Linked DNA regions of Homo sapiens: region 1 is linked to region 2. Evidence: promoter capture Hi-C in human tissues and cell types (Jung and others, 2019). All regions are on one chromosome and are shown on one strand. Each heading gives the region's core, a stretch centred on a gene start or on the middle of the fragment in contact. The rest is flanking DNA. Distances are from core to core; before and after follow the strand shown.

The links. Contacts are between HindIII fragments. The study calls those that stand out against the background at their distance.
Region 1: a contact is called between the fragment with the promoter of MDM4 here and a fragment that was not itself captured in region 2, in 1 of the 25 tissues and cell types used here (bladder).

Annotation. Positions count from the first base shown.
Region 1 is chr1:204,514,985-204,518,494 of GRCh38, reverse strand. MDM4 (MDM4 regulator of p53) reads right to left here and starts at 2,089. Exons shown (of 11, transcript NM_002393.5): 1 at 1,986-2,089. RefSeq lists enhancers at 1,817-2,096, 2,127-2,206, 2,217-2,346, 1,785-2,695, 1,636-2,835 and 1 more. The HindIII fragment of the contact is 11,632 bases long and covers 1-3,510 here.
Region 2 is chr1:204,364,373-204,368,218 of GRCh38, reverse strand. It overlaps a transcript of PLEKHA6 not described here. Among named protein-coding and RNA genes, the nearest start is that of LINC00628, 3.4 kb to the left of the region's middle. The HindIII fragment of the contact is 5,440 bases long and covers 1-3,846 here.

The DNA of each region.
Region 1 (3,510 bases), core at 840-3,339, 150 kb before region 2:
TACTAACTGCAAGTTACTAGGGAAAATGGAGAGCAAGCAGTTAATAAGTCAAATCCAGAACGTAGGTGTTCTACAGGACCTGGGACGGCAGGGAAGATTAAAGTGGGAAGATTAAACTGGGAAGATTAAATCTTTAATTAAAGATTAACGATTGTTATAGAATCTTAAAAAACCAACTGCAGCCGGTGGCCTGTGCCTGTAGTCCCAGCTATTCCGGAGGGCTGAGGCAGGAGGATCCCTAGAGTCCAGGAGTTTCAGGCTGTAGTGTGCAATGATCACACCTGTGAATAGCCACTGCACTGCAGCCTGAGCACACAGTGAGACCTCATCTCTTTTTTTGAGACAGGCTCTCGCGCTGTCGCCTAAGCTAGAGTGCAGTAGCTCCATCCCGGCTTGCTGCAGCCTTTACCTCCTGGGATCAAGCAATCCTCCCACCTCAGTCTCTTGGGTAGCTGGGACTGGAAGCTCGCTCTATGACACTGATTTTTTTATTTTTTGCAGAGATGGGGCTCAGTTTGTTGCCTAGGCTGGTGTCGAACTCCGAGACTCAAGCAAACCTGCCCCCTTGGCCTCCCAAAGTGCTGGGATTAAAGGTGTGAGCCACTGGGCCTGGCCGAAATCCCATCTATTAAAAAAAAAATGTATGAGGAGAGAGAAGACTAAATCTAAACTGAGATACAGTAATACTTAACACCAAGAGGTTCCAAGTATCTTTGACAGATACTAGTTCCACGTGCCAACAGCACAGAGCTGCAGCATTTTCTCCGGGTGTTGCTTTTAAACTGTGGTTTTCGGCCGGGCACGGTGGCTCACGCCTGTAATCCCAACACTTTCGGAGGCCGAGGTGGGCGGATCACCTGAGGTCTGGAGTTCGAGAACAGCCTGGCCAACCTGGTGAAACCTCATCTCTAATAAAACACAAAATTAGCCAGGCGTGGTGGCGCACACCTGTAATCCCAGCGACCCGGGAGGCTGAGGCAGAAGAATCACTTGAACCCGTGAGGCAGAAGTTGCAGTGAGCCAAGATCGCGCCACTGCACGCCAGCCTGGGCAAAAAGAGCGAAACTCCACTCAAAAAAAACAAAAACAAAACAAAAACACAACCAAAAAAACCTGTGGTTTTCAAGCTTTAAGGTATACAAAAATCACTGGGAGGTGTGCTCATTAAAATATATTTCTCTGAGCCCCATCTCGATACTGTCTGTAGGTTTCAGTGTGGCCCCAAAACGAACATTTTTTCTTTTTTTTTTTTTGAGACGGAATCTCCCTCTGTAGCCCAAGCTGGAGTGCAGTGGCGCGATCTCGACTCACTGCAACCCCCGCCCACGGATTCAAGTGATTCTCCTGCCTCAGCCTCCCGAGTAGCTAGGATTACAGGCATGCGCCACCACACACATCTAATATTTTTGTATTTTTACTAGAGACGGGGTTTCACCAGGTTGGCCAGGTTGGTCTCGAACTCCTGTCCTCAGGTAGATCCACCCACCTCGGCCTCCTGAAGTGCTGGGATTACAGGCGTGAGCCACCGCGCCAAGCCAAAACAAGCATTTTCAAACAAGCACTCAAGTGCCTCTAAGGTAGACTGTCCGCAGACCTAAAAACTAACTTAAAAACTTAAGACACGTCAATGTCATTCTACCCGGTTCCCTCTCTCCCACCTCCTTTCTCCAAATTGCCTCAACAGTCCTCAAATGTTGTGTCCAGTTAAACTCAATCCAACTACGTCGACTTTAGGTTTGTCACCTGTTGGCCAAAGTTACTTCACGTCACCCCACCTCCACTTTTATCTTCCGCGAGCCCTCATCCCACAACTCTTCCCCTCCCCCCGAGCCCTTCTTCCGCCTGGCGCGGCCTTCCCCACGCCGCCCGACCCACCTCTCAAGCTCCTCCCGCCCGCTACCCGCACAACTGGCGGTACGGCCGCCTGCTCCTCACTCTCCAGCTCCCGCTCCCGGCACCCCGCCGACGAAGGCCAAGAGCCACACCTTACGGCAGCTCCATGAGTCGCTCCCCCGCCGAGCCCGGGTGGGGGGAGGGGTGGCAGTCACAGATCCTAGGGCCTCGGCAGCATTTTGAAATGGCGAGTAATGAAGCCGCAACTTCCGGCCTCCCACACGGCCTCACACGAGGGCTTCCGGTGAGGCCTCCGGAAACCATAGATGGAGCAATGGGAGGACTAGAGAGCTAGAAAGGCTGAGCTCACTACCATAGAGTAGATCCTAGTCCGGGGAGAGAGTCGTGGGGCCCGAACGGTTGAAAGTCGTCAGATTTGAAGAGATAATAAGTGAGGGACTTGCAGGGTCTTGTGATATTTACAGACGTGTATTAGGAGATCAGAAAACAGAGAAGAGGAAGAGCTAAGGTCATAATCACAGGCTGCCTTCAGCTCTTCGGAAAAACTACGCTTCCTCTGCCATTCCCCAGTCCTCACCCTTACTCCCCAAGGGTGGTAGGGAAGGGAAACGGAGCGATGGCGGCACTAGGGTGGCAAGGAAGCTTGAAGCCATGTCAAATAAATAGTTGAAAGCACCAGCCGCTGTGGCTCACGCCTGTAATCCCAGCACTTTGGGAGGCCTAAGGCAGGCGGATCACCTGAGGTCAGGAGTTCGAGACCAGTCTGACCAATATGGTGAAACCCTGTTTCTACTAAAAATACAAAATTAGTCGGGTGTGGTGGCGCATGCCTGTAATCCCAGCTACTCAGGAGAATCGTTTGAACTTGGGAGGCGGAGGTTGCAGTGAGCCGAGATAGCGCCATTCCAGCCTGGGCAACAAGAGCGAAACTCCTCAAAAAAAAAAAAAAAAAAGAAAAAGAAATAGTTGAAGGCTCAAGGGAGTTTTTAACCTGCATATAAACGAGGGAGGCCGGGCGCAGTGGCTCTCCCCTGTAATCCCAGCGCACTTTGGGAGGCCGAGGCGGGCGGATCACCTGAGGTCAGCAGTTCGAGACCATCCTGCCCAACATGGCGAAACCCCCGTTTCTACTAAAAATACAAAAAATTAGCGGGGCATGGTGGCGGTCACCTGTAATCCCAGCTACTTAGGAGGCCGAGGCAGGAGAATCGTTTGAACCCGGGTGGCGGAGGTTGCAGTGAGCCGAGATAGCGCCATTGCACTCCAGCCTGGGCGACAAGAGCGAAACTGCATCTCAAAAAAAAAAAAAAAAAAAAAGAGGGAAAGGGTTGAGCATAGAAATTGGAAGCTGTCTTCAAATAACTGAATAGTATAATATTGGAAATAACGGAGCCTTATTCTCTTCTCCAAAGTGCAGAACTAAAACCAATAGAAATTACAAGGCAGTATTTTTAAGCTCAGAAAATCCTCTAACATTTAGAGTTGTTCTGAAATAAATGAAATTAGGTATTTGGGGGAAGTAATGTCATTTGAAGACAGCCTGCCTGAGAGGTTTGTTGAAAGCTCTTCTATATTAGGAAACATTAAAACTGGCTGTGTAACCCAAGAAAGCTCCATCTCAGTGTTCTTTGCACCTGTCTTTTAGCATTTACCACG
Region 2 (3,846 bases), core at 1,347-3,846:
GTGTGTTCACTGTTGTATCCAGGGGCTGGCACAGGGCCTGGCGCATCGTAGATGCTCAGTAAAGATTTGTTGAATGAATAAGTGCATCCTGCCAGGCTATGATTCATTCGGTCACTTCACCGCTCATTGACGGAGGACATCCCGTCCACTCCCATATCTCTCATTATTTGCTGGGAATCTCACTGCTAGAAATCACGGACAAAAAAGGATGGAATGGTTGGTTTGAACTCGGCTGGCTTATATTTGGATTTTCCTGACTGTCCAGGCACCCATCCCTCCTAAGTGCAGGTGGGGTTTGTGGGAAGAGAGGAAGAGAGGTTGATCCCAGGGTATCTCATTCTGGTGATTTTGCTTCCTCACAGGTTTGCCCAAGGGCTGGGAAGTGGATTCCACCCAGGAAGGAGCTGTGTATTTCATCAAGTGAGTAAGACGCAGTTTCCTTTCTGATGTCGCTGTTGGTTCTACTTTCATCCTTGTCAGGAGGAGAGATGGTTAAAGTGTCTGGTTTTTCACTGAAGGCACTGCTGGGTCTGTGATTGGCTAGGAGGTGCCGAGGCTCCTGAGAGCTGAGATAGAGATGGGAACGTATGTATCAGTGCGTCTGTTTATGTTGGCCTGGGCAGTAACCAGTGTCAGTCCTGGTAAGTTTCCTGGGGTGGGGTGGGTGGAGTGTTGGGCTGGGCTGTACCGGTGGGAAGGAGATGGCTCAACAAAGTAGAGGAACGAGGCTGTTCTAGACACACAGGCAGAGGTTCAGAGGCAGGAGACGCAGCCGCGGGGCAGGATGTGGAGGCAGTGGGAAGGGAAGGTGTCCGTGGGGTGTACGAAGGAGGACATCAGACTGGTGGTGGCAAGGCCAGCTCCGGTCACTCTTGCTCTTGTGGATGGGGGCATCTGCGATTCTGGGGGTGGTTTGTGTGGGCGGAGATGCCCTATTTTCCTCCTAGGAGTTGGTCAGGCCCCTCTGTGGGCTGGGGAGCCCTTATTTCCTGCCGTGGCTAAAGGTGTGCCTTGGGAAGTTGCCCTGGACTTAATCTTGGAAGCAGAAGACAGAGCTCTTTGGGCTGGGGTGGTGCATGAGCTACCCAGTTGAACTCACTTCTCTCTGCCTTGGCCTGGGTCTCTCCATCTGGTTTCATTCGCAAGGGTGAGGCTCAGCGTGCCCAGGCCTGTGGGCCTCACCTTCTGGTCTGGCCTCAGATTCTGCAGGGATGGTGAAGCGCCTCTGCCCAGCCTCCTGGGGCAATGGCACCACCAGAGGGAGCCCCAGTCTAGCCAGGGCAGGGAGGACCCTTGTCTCATCCCCTTTCCGTCCCTCTCTGCTTTGAAATCCTCATCCATCTGTACTAGGAGGGGTTACGTTTCCAATCCCCCACCGCCAAGATCTGCCAGCACTTAGATCTGCCACCATCTACCACCTACATCAGCTTAGCCGCTAACCTATTTTTTCTTTTTTTTAAGATAGGGTCTCACTCTGTCACCCAGGCTGGAGTGCAGTGGTGCGATCTCAGTTCACTGCAATTTCCATCTCCGGGGTTCAAGAGATTCTCGTGCCTCTGCCTCCTGAGTAGCTGGGACTACAGGTGCCCACCACCATGCCTGGCTAATTTTTGTATTTTTGGTCAAGATGGGGTTTTGTCATGTTGGCCAGGCTGGTCTCGAACACCTGGCCTCCAGGGATCCATCCACCTTGGCCTCCCAAAGTGCTGGGATTACAGGCGTGAGCCACCATGCCTGGGCCTGTTAACCATATTCTTAAAGCGAAAGCAAATTTTTCTTTTCTTTCTTTTCTTCTTTTTCTTTTTCTTTTGTTCCTCCTCCTTCTCCTCCTCCTCTTTCTCCTCTTCTTCCTGCTCTTCCTCCTTCTTCGTCTTCCTTTCAAAGTATCTGTTCTGGAAATTATTCTAATATCACATGACAGTTATAGACTGAATTTTTCCTGTTTGGACCCAAATGCTTCTTGCTTCAGTTAAGAATTGTGAATTGTTTCTTCTTTTCTCCCTCTTGCAGATACCATCTTCATATTCCTTTTGGTACATGGCTCTAGAGATTGTTCACTAAACACTTTCACATGTATTACGGCATCTCACCAGTCCCTAGAAACGTACCTGTCCACCTCTCTGACCTCGTGTCCCATGACTGGCTGGCTGTGCTGCCATCTTTCCTTCCCACCATCATGTCAAACCCATTCCCACCTCAGAGCCTTGGCGCTTGCTGTTCCCCCTGCCTGGGAGCACTGTCCTCCCATTTCCACACACCTGGTTCCGACTTCTCGATTAGCCCATGTCACCTCCTCAGAGAGGCCATGCCTGACTGCTCTGCCTGAATTCCCCCACCCCTCCACACTCTTACTCTTACTTTTCTTCACAGCACCTGGCACTACCTGAAACACGTTTGTTTATGTATCTGTTTGGTTATGTATTTCTGGTCCCCCCACTGCTGTGTAAGTCCTGGGAGCAGATTCTGGCTATTGTGTTTTTCACTCCCTCCTAGAACCTTTCTGGTGCATGATAGCAATCCAGTATTTCCTGAAATGAATGCATGCATGATAAACATTGGGAGACAAACAACACAGGCATAATTGATTTCTGCTTCAGCTACCAGCCCAGAGCTTTCTTCTGAGCTCCCTCAATTCATTGTGTCCAGACTTGAAGTCATTGCTTCTCTGTGCCGGTTCCATCTTTTCTAGAAATACCAGCAAAGCAGAGCCCTCGGAGATACCCTCAACCTTTCCCGCTCTCATGCCTCCCCCATGGGTCCTGTCAATTCTCCTCCCAAATATCTCTCAACCCACCCACTTCTCGATATCTCCATAGCCATGGCCTGAGTTCAGGCCCACATGGACTCTCACTTCCATTATTGTAGAAGCTTTCCAACTGATCTTCCTGCCTCCAGGCCATAATGCTGCAAGAGTGCTTTCTTTCTAGAATTCAAATTTGGTCATATTATTCTCCATTAAAAACTTTGCATGTTACCCGTCACTTACAGGATAAAATCTAAATTCCCTATCTGGGCACGTAAAGGGCATCATAGTCTCGCTCCCGCCCCCCTTCCCAGCCTCACCTCCCACACTCCCCACCTGGCTCTTTAGCCCTCTCCTCTAGCCCTGCCAAATCACTTGTGGTTCCCTCAACATTCGCTTCCCTTTCATGCTTCCGGGGCTTTGTAGGTGCCAATCTCTCCTCATGTGGCTCATGCCCACCTGAGAACACTTGTTCTTCCTTCAAGCCCTGCCCATGATGTCACTTCTTCAGGGATGTGTCCGTGTATGGTAGTTATTTGCTTATACTTGTGTCATTTTCCACTAGATTAGTAACTCTCCAACTGGAGCGTGTATCACAATCACTGGAGGGTTTGTTGGAGCACAGATGGCTGGGCCCTACCCCTAGAGTTTCGGATTCAGAGGGTCTAGAATTTGCACTTCCAACACATTCTCAGGTTATGCTGCTGTGGCTGCTCTGGGGCCCACACTTCGAGAACCAGTAGCCTAGACTGAAAACTCATCAAGGGCAGGGGCAACACAGGGGGGTCGTAAAGTCCGGAGACACAGGCAATATTGTTTAATTATCAACCAGCCATGAATTCTGTGTTCACATACATTTCCAGACCTGGTGGTCATTCTGTATATCATAGCAGCAGCCGCCACTCTAGGAGCTAAGTGCTTTATGACATTATCTCATTTATTCCTCACCGCACCTTTATGAGGAGGTTCTATCATCCCGCTTTTAGCAAATAATGGGAAAACTGGTTCTTCGTATGTATTACTCAATGTCACAAAGCTTGTATTAATAGAAAGCAAGCGGGAAGGCGGCCTCATGTGTGCCTGATTTCACAGGCTTTGCTCTT